5 separate regions of the Homo sapiens genome follow, and all the other regions are linked to region 1. Evidence: promoter capture Hi-C in 16 types of primary human blood cells and fetal thymus (Javierre and others, 2016). All regions are on one chromosome and are shown on one strand. Each heading gives the region's core, a stretch centred on a gene start or on the middle of the fragment in contact. The rest is flanking DNA. Distances are from core to core; before and after follow the strand shown.

Evidence for each region. The method cuts DNA at HindIII sites, captures the fragments that hold promoters and counts their contacts. A CHiCAGO score of 5 or more calls a contact.
Region 2: a fragment that was not itself captured here is called in contact with the fragment with the promoter of EPHX1 in region 1 in 1 of 17 cell types (endothelial precursors); the score reaches 6.7 in endothelial precursors.
Region 3: a fragment that was not itself captured here is called in contact with the fragment with the promoter of EPHX1 in region 1 in 2 of 17 cell types (endothelial precursors and activated CD4 T cells); the score reaches 8.7 in endothelial precursors.
Region 4: a contact is called between a fragment that was not itself captured here and the fragment with the promoter of EPHX1 in region 1, in 1 of 17 cell types (M0 macrophages). The highest score is 5.5, in M0 macrophages.
Region 5: a fragment that was not itself captured here is called in contact with the fragment with the promoter of EPHX1 in region 1 in 1 of 17 cell types (total B cells); the score reaches 5.1 in total B cells.

What each region holds. Positions count from the first base shown.
Region 1 is chr1:225,808,638-225,811,871 of GRCh38, forward strand. It overlaps EPHX1 (epoxide hydrolase 1), which reads left to right and starts at 1,487. Exons shown (of 9, transcript NM_001136018.4): 1 at 1,487-1,532. RefSeq lists a silencer at 1,445-1,664. The HindIII fragment of the contact is 4,776 bases long and covers 453-3,234 here.
Region 2 is chr1:225,511,426-225,514,860 of GRCh38, forward strand. ENAH (ENAH actin regulator) reads right to left here. Exons shown (of 14, transcript NM_018212.6): 7 at 3,171-3,435; 8 at 1,446-1,591; 9 at 1,232-1,289; 10 at 386-434. Among named protein-coding and RNA genes, the nearest start is that of LINC02765, 45 kb to the left of the region's middle. The HindIII fragment of the contact is 516 bases long and covers 1,717-2,232 here.
Region 3 is chr1:225,485,489-225,489,074 of GRCh38, forward strand. It overlaps ENAH (ENAH actin regulator), which reads right to left. Exons shown (of 14, transcript NM_018212.6): 14 at 1,341-3,586. It overlaps LOC124904526 (a long non-coding RNA gene), which reads left to right. Exons shown (of 2, transcript XR_007066903.1): 2 at 1,066-1,346. Among named protein-coding and RNA genes, the nearest start is that of LINC02765, 20 kb to the left of the region's middle. The HindIII fragment of the contact is 674 bases long and covers 1,219-1,892 here.
Region 4 is chr1:225,442,859-225,446,344 of GRCh38, forward strand. No RefSeq gene overlaps it. Among named protein-coding and RNA genes, the nearest start is that of LBR, 17 kb to the left of the region's middle. RefSeq lists enhancers at 1,778-1,847, 2,348-2,397, 3,293-3,486 and a cis regulatory region at 1,952-2,491. The HindIII fragment of the contact is 389 bases long and covers 1,869-2,257 here.
Region 5 is chr1:225,548,697-225,552,019 of GRCh38, forward strand. All of the region lies in intron 3 of ENAH (ENAH actin regulator), which reads right to left. Among named protein-coding and RNA genes, the nearest start is that of LINC02765, 83 kb to the left of the region's middle. RefSeq lists an enhancer at 297-796. The HindIII fragment of the contact is 220 bases long and covers 1,544-1,763 here.

The DNA.
Region 1 (3,234 bases), core at 237-2,736:
TTTGGTCCTCAATCTGGTGTCCAAGCCCCACCTCTGGCGTTAAGTCCTGACTCCTACCTGTTTCACCATCACTGCAGTTTTAAGAGTAACGAATTTGGGTCCCCTGGTGAAGTGGCCAGAGGCAGAGCTTCTGTGTGAACTATTTGGAGGGGAGGGGAAAGAACTCTCCCAGACTGCAGGTTCTGAAAGGAATACAGAGATGTCAGAGACTGCAGTTGCAAGAGAAAGCTTTTATAGGAGGGTGTAGAATTAAAGGACAAGAGGACTCTACATGTGGATGGAGGAGGGCACCCTGTCCGGCAGTACTGCAAGAGCAAAAGTTTGGAGGTGGGAGTGAGGTGAGTGCGTCTGCCGGCCAGAATTCTTGGGCCAGGGTGAGCAGAAAGGTTGGAGGCCAAGGGAAGGTGGGTGGTGGTGAACCTTATCCTGAAGTGTGCAAGGTGACAGTCAGAAGCTTAGAACTCCAGCCACGGGCCCTGCATGTGGCCTCCTAGCTGTAGTCTGTCCACCGAGATCGTGAGGATGCTGGTGGTTGAAAGAACTGCACCTCTGAGCAGGTGAAGAGAGAAGCTAAGGAGGGGTGATGGCAGAGGCGATGGGACAGGCTTTCTAACGATGAGGGGCTGGGGATCAACGCTCTCACGGAAGCTAAAAGAGCCCCAGCAACCACCCGCCTGGGCCCTGAGCTCTCTCCAAAGCGGGAGGGGATTCACTAAGAGGTTGCTCCCCTGGCATTGAACTCAGCATCCTATACTGGTCCTCACCATGAAGACCCCCAAGAGTGCTTCAGACCATTGCTTCTCACATTCTCTGTATAAAGACACTAATTTGTTTTTAGATTTCCAAGCATGTCACGGACCAATATGTTTGTTAAATATACTAAGAATGAATTGCTAGAAAGATGAAATTAAAAAGACATACACCGCCAGGTGCAGTGGCTCACGCCCATAATCTCACCACTTTGGGAGGCGGAGGTAGGTGCATCGCTTGAGCCCAGGAGTTCAAGATCAGCCTAGGCAACAAAGTGAGACCCCCGTATCTACAAAACTTAAAAAATTAGCCAGGTGTGGTGGCGCAGTCTGTAGTCCCAGCTATTCTGGAGGCCGAAGTGGGAGGATCGCTTGAGGCTGCAGTGAGCCGAGATCGCACCACTGCACTCCAGCCTGGGTGATAGAGTGAGACTCTGTCTCCAAAAAAAAAAAGGACATACATCATGCAAGTTTGGATTTTTGTTTTTAGATTCAACTGACGAAGTTACGGGATCAAACTGCTGTAGGAGCTGCCAAACGCTTCTCTCCATTTCTGGCCGCGGGGCCGCGGACCGCCCTTTAAGTAGCCCGTTTTATCCCTGGCAGAGGTGGAGCCTTAGGCAGGCCTAGAGACTTTCCCGGGTCCTCCAGGCCGGGGAACGCCCCGCTCGGAGGCCGGGCTTGGGCGGAGACTGCGCCGGGGCTGCTGAAAACTAGCCGAGGAGAGCCAGGGAGCCGGAGAGATCGCGCGCCTGCCGCCGCCGGAGCCTGCGAGCCGAGACCGTAAGCGCCCGGGGCCGGCCGGGCCCGCACTCCCCGGACGCAGACGCGGTTCGGGCTCCGCGCGGGCTCGGCCGCCGGGGTGGGCGGCGGGCCGGGGCGCCGAGGGGTCGGGGCTGCGGTCGGCCCGCAGGGGTGCAGAGGGACTTGTAGTTGGTCCGCCCCCAGCTCCTGCCCCGGCCAGGAGACTGCGCGTGCCGCCTACTGGGGGAAGGAGCCTGCAGGCGACCGCGGACTTCTCGCAGGGAATTCCGCGTCCCAGACTGTGGGCGGACGCCGCAGGGAGGGAGGCTCGCGACCCCGAGAGCGCACCGCGTCCCCTGGCCTGGGCGAGCTCTGCTTCCAGGGCCGTGGCTCGCTCGGCGGTGAAATGCACTTAATTTGTCACCCAAGTCGGAACACTGATTTTCATGCGCGTCCGTGTGAAGAGACCACCAAACAGGCTTTGTGTGAGCAACATGGCTGTTTATTTCACCTGGGTGCAGGCGGGCTGAGTCCGAAAAGAGTCAGCCAAGGGAGATAGGGGTGGGGCCGTTTTATAGGATTTGGGTAGGTAAAGGAAAATTACAGTCAAAGGGGGGTTCTCTGGCGGGCAGAGTGGGGGGGGTCACAAGGTGCTCAGTAGGGGAGCTTTTGAGCCAGGATGAGCCAGGAGAAGGAATTTCACAAGACAATGTCATCAGTTAAGGCAGGAACAGGTCATTTTCACTTTTGTGGTGGAATGACATCAGTTAAGGCAGGAACCGGCCATCTGGATGTGTAGGTGCAGGCCACAGGGGATATGATGGCTTAGCTTCGGCTCAGAGGCCTGACACTGATCACACCTTTTAGTTGAAATGCGCTTTCATCTCCATCTGCTGCCGCAGCCGCCGCCCGGCACCCCCTCGCTCTGGTCTCGGGATTGAAGGCCAGCCCTCTCCTCTTGTAGAACAGGAAACTTGCCCGGGAGTTCACCTTGTAGTTGAAGCCAGGGAATGTGGTCAACCTGAGCAAAAGCGCCGCGGAGACCGAGTGGCCGCCTGCCTCCCTCCCTGGCAGATGTCGGTTTTCTCTGAGCTTCTGGCTCCTTCCTTGCCCTGGCGGCTCCCGAGATCTTGGAGGTGGGGTGCCTAGCAATGTTGTAATCCTAATTTTGACTTTTTTTTCTTAAAGTTGAATGCCCCCTCCATAGCCCACCTCCCATTGTTTAAACTTCAGGTTCCGCAAAGCCTGGATCCGCCCCTACAGGCAACACTCGTTGTCCTGGAAGTTCTGTGAGGGCTCAGCTTGTGGCTGGAGGTGGGAGGTGAGGGGGACCCATGCACTTGGCAGGCCCGCTTCCAGGACAGCCCTTTGCTGGGATTGATGAGCTGTTGGTGGAAAATTGTTGAGGACCTTGGGGTTGGTGGCTGTTTCGGTACCACTGTGCAGCCTCCTCTGCATCCAGCATAATTTAAAATAAACATTTTCAGGAAGCCACACTTCTCCAGAAAGTAACATTGTTTTCTGGTGTAACGGTTGCCTCCTTCAGGGAGCTAGGTTTGGGGGATAATAGGGGGCCTTTCACTGGCCCCACTTGGTCTGACTTAGCAGCAAAAACTCTGCGAGTGCTCTCCAAGCAGTTTTTCTTTCCCAAATTTCCACACCTAGGAGGCGCTGAGGAGGCATGGGCGGTACTTAGGAACTGCTCACTGTGGAACTGAGGCACAGCGGGGAGCATGCCCTC
Region 2 (3,435 bases), core at 725-3,224, 300 kb before region 1:
AAATCAGAAACTTTATTCCCTTAATTATCAATATCACCCAAATGAATGGCTAGGACATCCTTCTCAATTTGAGAATGTTCTGAAGCAGACTGTAGTACTAACTAACATGCTCACTTTATTTTTACCTCTAGAAAAACAATTATGAAAAATACTCTTGTCATCTAATAGTACATTAATATTTTCCTTGTTTTAGTAAGTAACCTCAAGAAAGTAACAGCAGCTTCCAGGAGGAAAAAAGTGAATGCTTTCAGGTGGGAACAAAGAACTCTGGCATTTTAGTGTCCAGTCACTTGGTCCAAATATGGGGAAAGGGGGAATTTTTAACTGGGGAGTATTAATATTTAGAGAAAGTTTATAAAGGTTAAAATATTTATCTTGAACTTACCAGGTGTACTTGTTGAAGAGGCCTTAGAAGTTACAGGCTCTGAATCTTCCTAAATATACAGATATATATTAATATCACATCTACCAGTCCCCTGTTGCTATATACATTTAGTGTTTTACACGAACACTTCTAATATTCTTTCTGCCACTCCCCACTTTCTCTTTCATCGGTCTTCTCTCCCTTTCATTTCAGCTTAGACTTTCTTCTCCTGTCTTCAACCATCTTCCCTTCAACCCTCCCCACAGCTCCTTTCCTCATGTGTTCTCCTTGAGAACTTTCACTAGCCAATGCTACAAAGCCAGACACGAGAGACAGATTTGAGGAATGGCATCTAAGGTGGCCAGATGGAGCAGGGGGAACATATTATTTGTTGCACACCAATATACAGCACAGACAAAGCAGAGTTTGCCCAGCTGAATCAGGGAGGAGGGCATGAAGGTTACACTCTGAAGGGGCACAGCCAATAACCATCAAGCTCCTAAGGGAAACATATGAATTTAGGCGAATTCCTTCCTTTTAAATTAATGCAAGGGAACTGAGATTCTAAGAGATGAAAAAAGTAGTGAAATGTCATTCACTCATTTAAGGAACAGAATTAAACTCCACAGGTTTGAACTTCAATGCTTTTCCCATAATTTCACATATTCAACTCACTTTACTAAGACTGCCATTAAAAATTTATAAATAACAGTCAAAACAAGCCACTTCACATGCATAGTTAAAAATTAGCAAATATAAGTTCAAACTAATTAAGCCCAAATTAAATAAATGCTGACACTATTTCCTGAATGAGCTGTGCCTGAATTCCATATTTTAAGGTATGGTAGACTATCTTTATTAACTTACACCTTTGTCCTCTTTTTGTTCTGTTTCTATTGTTGATCCCTTTTCAGCAATTCTTCTCCTACAAAGAAGGCAAATCCGATTTTTAAAAATATTATCTGATTCAGTATAAAAACCACTTCTCTACGAGGAAAGAAGTGCATCTAGTTAGTTGTATTTGGAATACAATTAAAATCCTCTCAATTCTGGGCATGTCCATTATAATGAAATTCCTTACCTCCTGGCCAGCAGGGCACTCATTTCTTCCATTAAACCACTACCCCCTAAAGGAAGGGGTCCATTTCCACGGCCTGTATCTGTTTTAGATGAGGCGGAGTTCACACCAATAGCATTCCCTCCACTTGGGAAAGAGGTATCCTCCATCTTAATGAGAATATACAGACATAATCAACTCCTATGTTAGACAACCATATTTTTATTAATATATTACATCTAAAACAGAAGGAAACATCAGCATTAATTTTAAAAAACCTAAATATTATTTTTTAAGCTTTAAGAACCAATAGATTCTTAGCATGACTTTATATATCAACAAGAGTTTATCAAAACTACTATCACCAAGAATGCAATGAAACAGTATCATGTATCTCTTCCTGTGCTGCCATGAAAAGGGCATGACTTTGCTCTGATAATATTCCTGCTAAAACAACCCCTGCATAACTAGAATCTAATCTTGAGGAAAAATCAGATAAGCCAAAGTGAAGGATAACAGGCAAAATAATTGTCCTACAGTCTTCAAAAATGCCAGTATTATGAAAGATTGAGGAACTGTCATAAAGTATATCAAAGAGACATTATAACTAAATGCAATAAATGATCTTGCACTAGGAAAAAAACTGTCACTAAAGATGTCATTGGACTATAGATGAAATTTGAATAATACATTTGTAGATTACAGTATTCTATCATGTTAACTTTCCTGATTTTGATAATTATATTACTGGTTATGCAGGTAAATGTCCTTGTTCTTATAAAATTCACACTGAGGTACTTAGGAAAATAGAAGCTTGTGTCTCTGAGTTACTCTCAAATCATTCAAACAAAAGTGCATGTGTAGGCCGGGTGCGATGGCTCACACCTGTAATCCCGGCACTGTGGGAGGCTGAGGCGGGTGGATCACCTGAGGTCAGGATTTCAAGACCAGTCTGGTCAACATCGCGAAACCCTATCTCTACTAAAAATACAAAAATTAGCTAAGCATGGTGGTGGGTGCCTGTAATCCCAGCTACTCAGGAGGCTGAGGCAAAATCGCTTGAACCTGGGAGGTGGAGGTTGCAGTGAGCTGAGATCGCGCCATGGCACTCCAGTCTGGATAACAAGAGTGAAACTCCGTCTCAAGAGAAAAAACAAAAAAAGTGCATGTGTAAAGAAGGAAACATATCCAAAGAAGGAATAAAAAAGCAAATACTGGTAAAATGTTAATGGGTGAATGTAGGTGATGAATTTATAGAAATTATTTATACTATTCTTACAACTTCACTATAAAAATTTAAATTATGTCAATTTTTAATTTTTATTTATTTTATTTTTTGAGACAAAGTCTTACTCTGTCACCCAGGCTAGAGCGCAGTGGCATGATCTCGGCTCACTGCAACCTCCACCTCCCGGGTTCAAGCGATTCTTCTGCCTCAGCCTCCCGAGCAGCTGGGATTATAGGCATGTGTCACACATCTGGCTAAGTTTTGTATTTTTAGTGAGATAGGGTTTTAACATGTTGGCCAGCCTGGTCTCGAACTCCTGACCTCAGGTGATCCGCCCACCCCAGCCTCCCAAAGTGCAGGGATTATACAGGTATGAGCCATTGCGCCAGGGTAAATTATTTCAATTTTTTAAATCAATGAAGTTCATAACATTTCATAAAATTAGAATACAATAAATTCAACATTTTAGATATTTAGGAAGAATAAGACATATTAAAAAAATTTTTCAGAAAGGTATTTACCCGTGACACTTTCCTAAGTTTTGCTCCGGCAATTGCAGCTGCAAGTCCAGTTAAAGGGCGATTGTCTTCTGACATGGATGCCAAAAAGAATCCAGATGCAGGGAGGGGTGGGGCAGGAGGTGGTGGAGGAGGAGGGGGTACTTGATTAGGGAGAGGAGGGGGAGGAGGGGGCGGTGGAGGCCCGGTGGATGGGAGTGGAGGAGGTGGAGGGGGCCCTGGGGGAGGAGGGAGGGCTACTGAAGCCTGTGCAGGCCCTGGTGGGAGT
Region 3 (3,586 bases), core at 306-2,805, 320 kb before region 1:
AGCTGGGCCACCTGGGTGGGGAGCCTCAGCCAGATACCCCCAGCATATTGAAACCATAGAAGCTGGAGCTGGAATGACCTTTGAAGACCTAAACACCTCACTTTACAGCTGAGAGGAGAGAAGGCTAAAATACAACTCCCGGACTCAGTGCCCAGGTGCCACGGTGTCCTTGCCCACACTGCCCAGGGCTAGGGTAGCAATCTCATGACAATAAGCTCCAAAAGTTACTGGGAACTGAGGGGCTTCACAAATCTTTTCAGCATATAGTCTCTTAGGGTCTGGCCTCTTTGCCATAACACAATGGGATTCAGCCTAGAATGAAAACATCCAAGAATACAGAAGGCTGGGTCAGCTCATGACTGCAGTGGCAAAATGCATTCCCCTACAGCCCCTTTCCGCTGTACACCAAGGGCTTCTCAGTTGAAAAGGAGAGGAGAGGTAACAGACATTCAGTCTATTTAGAAATGAGGCTGGCAAAAAAGGAGGTGACAAGTTACTCTGGTTCAGTTGATGAACCTTCTTTTCACCTGAGCCTTCTTTTCACCTCCCTGACATCAGAGAATGAAAACAAAGACATCATACAGAAAAGTGTGGCCATTAAAAGGATCACACCCTTTACACTAATGTGCCAGCAAGCTCCTCACAAACCACAGACTCCCAGATATTCTTAGCTGAAAGGCACCTGCCTCTAGGGACCTCCAGTGAGGGGCAGGATGGTCACAAAGTGAGAACACCAAGTCCTTTTTTTTTTTTTTTTTTTTTTTTGTAGAGACGGGATTTCGTCATGTCACCCAGGCTGGTCTTGAACTCCTGGACTCAAGCAATCCGCCCACCCCTCCCAAAATGCTGGGATTACAGACATGAGCCACCATGCCCGGCCTGAGAACACTAAGTCTTATGTCTGTCTTCAGCTCTTCAAAGCCCCAAAGCACTTGCACCATTGTGTAGTTTTGCAGTGGTCCCAGTACTGGTTCCTGCAGTAAGTACGCTTAATACTAAAATGCACAGGGCATTTGGTCCTGGAGGAAAATAGCACGTACATGCAGCTCGTTCATTTACCAACAGGCTGTTCACTGGCTTTGGACGCCTCCAATGAAGAGGTCACCAAGCTTTCCGTCATAGAGGAGCAGCAGCATTCAGGGAAAGGATGGCGGATCGCAAAACACTCCCCTTGGTGACAGGCTGAAATGCAGAAGGACCAGTATAGAACGCTCCTCAAGCTTTTAGAACTGAGCGTATTTTAAGGTCAGAATCACAACCAAGACAAAAGAATGCAACTCTTTTCATGTCGTATACCTTTGGTAAATTAAGAGCAACTGGTAAAATAAATACAAATCTCATTTGAATTAAGTATTTCATGTTTTTATTTCAAAAGAAAAAAGGATACCAAGAAGCAGAAGAATGAAGCAGTTAAAACCAGCAAAGCTGCAAAGTAGGAAAGAAAGCTGAGGGAGAGATTGATCCGATTTCAACGATGTGGCCACTTAATGCAAACACAGGGGTCTGATGCTGCAAACCTAAGTCACATGAGTCCAGTGACTTCAGCAGGTCCACTGATCCACCACAGTGACAGGGCCAGGCCCCTTCCTGCTGAATCCTAACTTTACACATTCTAGACACATGTCATGCACATACAGGTTACACTTTATGGTTACATGAAATTGCATGCAATTCACACAGAGAATCATTTTGAAGGCACTGTATTTTGCAGCAGGAGCTGCTACTTTCTGGCAAGTCCTTCCTAGGTTGGCTCACAAGTGGTCCTCCTTTTTATTTATTCCTATATGAAACTTTGGTCCAAAAATCAGGTGCAGTCTGATCCTACCCTCCCAGCTGTTTTAGTTTCATGTCTCACCTTCTCTTCCACGTTCCCTTCTTAAACGTAGATGTCAAGCTTAGAAGATGTTTCCTGACAATGAGATCCTGTTTAATTCAGATTTTCAAACAACTTGAGTCAAGCAAGCAGGAGCTTATAGTATGTTGATTTAAAACAAGTTGTTACCAGTTTCCCTTACCCTTGAATTCGGCAAGGCCCATTAATTCACAAATTCCATGATAAGATACATGAGGTTCTGTATGCATAGTAAATGATTTCTAGTTACAATTAAAATACAGCCTTGTATATGTTTAAGTCAACCTTAACTTTTAAAACATGACTTCAGTATACGCAACCTTAGGCTCACTTCCAGATTATAAAGTCCCATTCATGGGGTGCAAATGTTTACATTGTTAGCAAAGAAAATAGCTCTGCATAATCTTTTGACATACATGCACACTTCTAGTTCTAAAATTCAGAGCAAAGCAAGATGACAAGAGATTCCAATTCCAGCATATATTATGAAAGGTTATGGACTGTGACTATCCATCCTTTTGGACCATAAGAAATTCACTTTTAAATTTTTTCTACTGTGCTGTTCTACTATATACTTTTGGTCTATCAACTTGGTAGGCCTGAAAAAAAAAAGTATTTAACCTTCTAAATCTCATAATAGAAATTATGTACGTTGTTCTTTAACCAGAAAGGTTCACTGCTGACTCCCCCACCTCTCAAAAAACAAACAAACAAACAAACACCACCAAAGCTTTCCGCCATTCATGCACATGCTTATTCTGACCCCAACCCCATCCCTACAAAGGGGCAGCAGACAGCACAATAGTCAAGGACAAGGTTTTTATTTATTTATTTATTTATTATTTATTTATTTATTTTTTAAGGAGACAGGCCTCGCTATGTTGCCCAGGCTGGCCTCCAACTTTGGGCTCAAGTGATCCTTCTGCCTCAGCCCCCCGAGTCGCTGTGCCTAGGAGCACGCACCACCACACCTGGCTTAAGTAGAAGGTTCTGAAATCTGCCAGAGGCTGAGCAACAGAAAGCTTCCAATGAGAACTCAGAAGGCATTCACTCTGCCTGAAGTTGTGCTCTGCTCACAGCACGAGTGTGGCTGTCCCTCTCTCGCTCCCACCAGCTACATAATAGGGACTTTCAGGATGCTCCTATAAATACAGACTCCAGAGAGGTTTCCTCAAAAATTAAAAAAAAAATTCTATGCAAATATGTAAGTACTGTCATTGAGGATTACAGAAATACTTTGCATCAACTACAGATGTCTCAAAATAGAATTCTTTCTAGCTCATTCAGTTTTGTTAGAAACACTTCATGTTCTCCAAAAAAGAAAAGCACCTAACGAAAAGCATGTCCTATTCATGCTAGCAAGAAATGAATCCCAAAGGACACGCACCAAGAACCAAAGTAAAAGAATGTCAGCAAAACAGGACCCATCTTTTATCATCCCAAACTGCTATTTCCATCTCTGACTTTCTGCCAAATTATCTTTATCTTCCTAAGACGAAGCAAAGACTCAGAGCCCTCAAATGGCACGGAAGCGGCACCTGGTCTGCCAAGACATTGCTGTTAAACAGAGTCTTTTGGATTAAAACCAGGGAACTCGGAAGGAATGACTACATGGATATAGATGGATAAGATGGAAGATATAAAATAAGAAGGGCAGGAGGGTAAGATTATTCCTTTTTTCCTTTCAAGGCTGACAGTGATAGAATAAACAGCAGCACAGCAGGTTCAGATGAT
Region 4 (3,486 bases), core at 813-3,312, 370 kb before region 1:
CACACACACACACACACACACACACACACACACACACACACACGGAGGGCCAAAAAAAAATGGTAAGGAAGAAGAAGAATGGAGGCAGAAAAGATGCCACCCTGGAGAGGTGACCTGGCTGCTGTGGTAACGTGGACATGCTCAGCGCGTTTCAGGACTGTTAGGTTTCAGGGTCTGCCCACCTGCCTCTCCTGAGAGGGGGGCGACAGAGAGCTGGCTGCGTGCAGGGCTCTCCTGGGAATCTGGGCTCTCAGCCAGGCCACCCCACAGAAGTGTTCAGGGGCAGGGAGTTGTATATCCTGGAATGACTATTTAGAAAGGATATAACAGAGGGGAGAGAAAAATAAGGAAATGTGAGGAGTTAGGTCAATGCTTGCCCCTTCCCACGGGCCCACCCATGGTAACGCTGTGGCTCGCTGCAGGCCAGCCAGTATCTGGGAATACAGAGACGCATGATAGTGTCTTTCTACTCTGATTACAACTCCACTAGGTGCCAGCATTTTGCATGCAATCGCTCTATTAATCCTTTCAATGTCCTTGTGAGATAGGTCCATTTATCCCCATTCCACAGGTGAAGAAACTGAAAGAATGGTTGAATGACCTGCTCCGGCTGACACACGGAGTGAGTGGCTGAGCTGGGAAGAGAGACCAGTGGCGTGTAACTCAGAGTCCACGGTGTGTGATGTATGAAGGACTAAGAGAGACCAGTCAGGAGCAGCCGGAATCCCATCTGGAGCCTAAAGAGTTGTCTTTGGTGTAGAAAGTGTCTACCCCACCCCTAATTATATATCCAGTGAAGGCTGTTGCTTAACGTGGCTGTTGGCTCATAAACTGTAAGCACTATGAGAGCAAGTCTTTTCATCTGTGACCTCGATGTCCCCCTTGGTGCCATGGGCTGTGCCCATGTGCGCTAAATACACATGATCAGCCTATTGCTGTTTGGCCAGCTGTCTTTTTTTTTTTTTTTTTTTTTTTTTTTTTTGAGATGGAGTTTCGCTCTTTTTGGCCAGGTTGGAGTGCCATGGTGCAATCTCAGCTTACTGCAACCTCCACCTCCTGGGTTCAAATGATTCTCCTGCCTCAGCCTCCCAAGTAGCTGGGATTACAGGCATGCACCACCATGCCAAGCTAATTCTGTATTTTTAGTAGAGATAGGGTTTCACCATGTTGGCCAGTCTGGTCTCGAACTCCTGACCTCAGGTGATCCGCCTACCTCTGCTCCCGAAGTGCTGGGATTACAGATGTGAGCCACCATGCCCAGCCACCCAGCTGTCCTTTTAGGACACTTTCTGTACTCTCTGTAATAACAGAAGTCCCACACCAGGGCTGACTTTATAGAACCCTAGTTCCAAACTCTCTTAGTTCTGTCAGGAAAGCATTTGCATTTTTTTTTCTCCCCCGAGACAGGGTCTTGCTCTGTCACCCATGCTGGAGTGCAGTGGTGTGATAGCTCACTGCAGCCTCAAACTCCCCCAGCTCAAGCAATCCTCCCACCTCAGCCTCCCAAGTAGCTGAGACTACAGGCATAAGCCACCACACCTAGCCAGAAAAACTCTTTCTTTCTTTCTTTCTTTTTTTTTGAGATGGAGTCTTGCTCTGTCACCCAGGCTGGAGTGCAGTGGCTCGATCTTGGCTCACTGCAATCTCTGCCTCTCAGGTTCAAGCAATTCTCCTGCCTCAGCCTCCCAAGTAGCTGGGATTACAGGCATGCGCCATCACGCCCAACTAATTTTTGTATTTTTAGTAGAGATGGGGTTTCACCATGTTGGCCAGGCTGGCCTCGAACTCCTGACCTCAGGTGATCTACCAGCCTTGGCCTCCCAAAGTGCTGGGATTACAGGCGTGAGCCACCGCACCCGTGCCAGAAAAGCTTTTTTCTTAATAGCTCCCCTGGGAACCTCAGTTCTACCACCGAAGGTATACAATCACTCCAACAGATAACAAATCGACATTGTCGTGCATAAATGTAGAGCTGATCCGTATTTCATGTCAAAGGCCTGGACTGTGTGAAATTGGCTGGTATTTGTTCCAGAAGCACTTGTTCATGTTGAAGATGGGGCAGTTCTGAGTGGGTTAGCAGGCTGACGAGCTTGGCTCAGAAGCCGCTCACTATTGTTTGGGCTTTGCTTTTGACTTCACATCCTGAAATAAATGGTCGTTGCAGACCAGGCACGTGAGCAGGAAGTGGGCAGGGCTTAAAACACAGAGAAGTCATAACCTCTGCGGTTTGGTTCATGTTGTAATATGAAAACCAGGAAGCTTATCTTGCAGGAGGCTGATGTGTAAAAGTTCAGAATGGAGTGGAGCCCTCCCTCTTGGCACCCTATGCGCGGAGTCACCCTTTGTCTGCCACAGGAAGCACCCAGGTCCTGGCAGCTAGAAAACTGTAACAACTTGGAAACATTTCCCAAAATGTCATCATGGCATCAAAATGAGACAATCAATTTCTTGCAAAATTGTTTGCAAGAATACAATTTGATCAAAAGTAGAGTTAGACTTTTTTTTTTTTAAGACAGTTTCGATCTTGTTACCTAGGCTAGAGTGCAATGGTGATCTCTGCTTACTGCAACCTCTGCCTGCCAGGTTCAAGCGATTCTCTGCCTCAGCCTCCTGAATAGCTGGGACTACAGGTGTGCGCCACCATGCCCAGCTAATTTTTGTATTTTTAGTAGAGACGGGGTTTCACCATGTTGGCCAGGCTGGTCTGAAACTCCTGACCTCAGATGACCTGCCTGCCTCGGCCTCCCAAAGTGCTGGATTGTAAGCGTGAGCCACTACGCCCAGCCGAGTTAGACTTTCTCTAAGAACAGCCCCTCTGTGTGTTTTAACTTAAGTGAGAAACAACATGGGTGAGTCAGTGGTTGAAGGCAAGAGAGACACGGGAGAGACACTGATGCCCTGTCCATCCCTTCTCTGGGCCTCAGGGCATTCCAGCAGGTAGAGAACTCCACCCTCCTGCCTGCCTATCAGTCTGCTTGGTCTTGAAAGTCTGCTGCACAGAGTGGGTAGTGGCCATCTGAATCAGTGCTAACACAAAAGCTAGACAGCAATGCTTACAGGCTAGCCAGGAAAATGTTTTTACCAGAAAATTGCTTGAGAAGAGAACACAGAGTTTCAGTAGGGACATGACGATTGAGGATGGAAATGCTTGGTGAAGCAGAACATCCTGGCGTAGCCACAAGAAAACACAATAACCTTAAGGCAGTCACTCGAAGGCATCCTGGAGCCCCAGGCAGGGAGCATTTCACTTCACCAAGGCGTCTGGGGCCATCAAGTGGGAGAAAAAACTGAAGCCTAAAGCTCCTGCTACTGCTCTCTGAGCTCCCAGATCCCTGTACCTGACACCTGCCACACCTGGCTCGGCAGGTAACTAAGACTGGAAGAACCAGATGAGGAGTGGCTCTGCCACACTTATTTGAGAAAATGTCTGAGTAGTATCTGTCCAGCTAGGTCTTCCTGAGTTTCCCATGGCTCTTAAAGATTAGA
Region 5 (3,323 bases), core at 404-2,903, 260 kb before region 1:
GACATATTAACCTCACATTACTGTGATTCACAAAAGGGAGGACTGTGAGAGGTAAGTATGAGAAGAAAGTAGAGCAGGCAGACCTACGAAAAGACTGTCCCCACCTACCCAATCCCCAAACCTGTTACTCACTTAATACTTAGTGAACAGATTTTTTTTTTTTTTTTTTGAGGCAGAGTTTTTACTCTTGTCACCCAGGCTGGAGTGCAGTGGCACGATCTCAGCTCACTGCAACCTCCGCCTCCCGGGTTCAAGCAATTCTCCTGCATCGGCCTCCCGAGTAATTGGGACTACAGGTGCCCGCCACCACGCCCAGCTAATTTTTGCGTTTTTAGTAGAGATGAGGTTTCACCATATCAGCCAGGCTGGTCTCGAACTCCTGGTCTCAAGTGATGCACCCGCCTCGGCCTCCCTAAGTGCTGGGATTACAGGTGTATGCCACCGCACCTGGCCAAACAGATAGGTTTTATAGGGTTCAAAATGTTAATTCTCCAATAAGATTAGTTGTTTCGGAAAGCTAAACTAAAAAACTTTGTCCAGGGTTATCTTTGGGATTCTTTTCAGGTCCAAATTTTTAAGATTTCATGAAAGCATTAATAAAGAACCGCAAATGGAGTATATCCAGAACCAAATGTGTTATCTGCAGCACAGTATTTCCTCTTCCATCCTCTTTCACTCTGTCTCTGGTTAACAGGACCATCTTTACCGGGGGCCCAAACTGACACACCTGGTCATCATTTTAAAACACTGTTCTCTCCTTCCCGGCCTGCCCATTACATCTTACTGACAAAGAGAAAAGAGGTTGAGTTCTAAGACCTCGGTACAAAAGCCACTAATGCCACTGTCTAGCTGTGGGTCCTCGCATCACTACAGTAGTGACCTTCTGTAAGTGCCAATCTCATTTCTAAAACAAGGATAATACCACCAACCTTGTAGGGTTGTTATAAAGATGATTGGTTATGTATACGCCAGATTAAGACCAAGCACACAGAAGGTGACCAATAAATAGATCATTATTCCTGCCTCAGAATGGCTTTAATTTCTATGTGAGGACAAAGGTAGAAAGCTAGAACACTGCCGTGGCAGGTATAGCCAGCACTAAATGAAAGCTGGTCACCTCCTCTTCATTCTGCTCCTCTCCTCTCTCTACTTTGTCAGTTCAGGCCTCATCTTTCTCACCGGTATTATTACAACAGTGTCCTGAATTGATCTTCATGCTTGTAAACTTGCATGCTCACCACACTTGTCCTAAAGCACAAACTTGATCATATCAATCCTTTATTTAGCATCCTTCAATGACTCTTCACCACCTCCATGATAACATGCACACTCGTCAGCACTAGGCCCTTCCCAACCTTATCTCTTGGGATGCCCTGCTCCTGACCCCCACCACATAAATTCTCATGTCCAAGCCACATCATGGCATATTTGTTATTTCCCAATTGCTCCATGCTCTCATGCTTCCAAACCTATCTAGAATGTTCTATCACTGATGAGCCCTCCCCATTCTTCAAACATAGCTGAAACATCACCTTCTCTTCAAAGCTTTCCCTGACCCTAGAATTTTCTTTGGTATTCCGAAGGCCTTTCTTCACACTACATTCGCAAGCTGTATCCTAATTTTGCTGGCCTTGTTTCTGGCAGCTGTAGCCCGACTGTGACATCAGGCAAGGGACAGGCTTTATTTATCATTTTTGTATTATTCCCAGTGCCTAACACAGTTTATAAAAAATACGCTTTACTGAAAATATTTTTGTGATATAAGCTTAATATTGTTTGCATTAATATCAACAATCTGGAAGACTAAAAAACAAAACTGTCACTATAAAGTATTTCTAGAAACTACTGAGATTTTTTTAATCCTATTAATTCCAAACATAAAGAGATTTTTAAATGCTGTGATAAAACTCATACAAATGTACATACTGGAAGGTATGTCAGGCCAAATTATCATTAAAAAATGAAATCTCAATATTATAAAACCTCTAGAAAATTTCAACCATAAGGAAGGTATGACTTTTGACCATGTTCTCATGTTCAATAGATTAAAAAATAAAACCCAGCAAAAGTAGTCTTTTAGATAATGGTAAAATACTTATTTTGGGGTGTTCTTTTTGAAAAGGCATGCTTCATCTTGGCTGAGAACAAAAGCAGTGGGATAATCTTACTGGTTATGCATATAATTTTCTTTTTTTTGGATTTAAAAATTATTTCCTATTTTCAAATGATTTAAACCTTTTAAGAAAATAAAAGTTGGGCAAATTTGCCTCCACCAATTATCACAAAAATTAACTTTGTAGTTTATATAATCCATAACTATTACCTATAAAAATCTATAAATGTACTGGATAAATAATAGAGAAATCAAAAATATCACTTTAGGTAATACACCCATTTAAAATTGAATCCATTTCCATGGAGAAAGGAAAAAATACACTGTAGCATTTGGTATAAAAGGAAGAGCACTAATTCAGCTCTTTTTCAAAAATGTTAGAACATGTGATTTGTGTTTTTTTAACTTCCAAATATAACTCACTGTATTTAGCACCTTCTGTACTTTCCAGTATATTAGATAATTGCATACCAAGTTAAAAACAAAATAAAGGAAAACATTTCTGCCACCCACCATTTTCATTAAAAAAAGGAAATATCACACAAACACACAGAGCACCTTGTAAAGGTTGGTATGACTAGCCCCCCAGAAAGCTGTTTTTTATAAATTTAAAAAATTTGAGGACGTAGGGGACACGGAAGAAGAGGAAAGGAAAATTATGTGATTATTGGTTTTAGCACAAAACGTGAGCTAGTAATTTTCAAATTCAGTTCTAGAGAACCATGGAGGCATCTCAGTGGTTGCGGATCCGGAACCCTATATCAATCAGAGAAGCTCCATATTTTCTGTCCATTTATACACTGAACTACCAAAGATCTCATTTGCACAAAAATGTCCATAACTTTTTAAAGTCTGAAAATCACTGAGAAGGATTAGCCGATGACAACAGTGGATAATATTGATATTAGCACCTAATAAATAAAAATACAAACAGAAATGTTTAATATGGAAAAATGTTTTAACAAGTGGTAAAACATTAAGAAACAGGCAAGACTAATATTTGTAGTTGCTTTATCAATAAGTTTGTTCTGCTTCTCATCAGTTTTATCAGGCTACAGTTTGTAAAGGGAAGGGAGATGTAAGTTAAGCTTTTTCAACTTGGTTTTGGAAGAAAGACAGTAGATGATTTCAGCAGCCAATTGGCTGTGAATCCAAAGCAAAGATTTTTGGCAGGGTATGATCAAACTGAGAGGTGACATTATTGGGTATG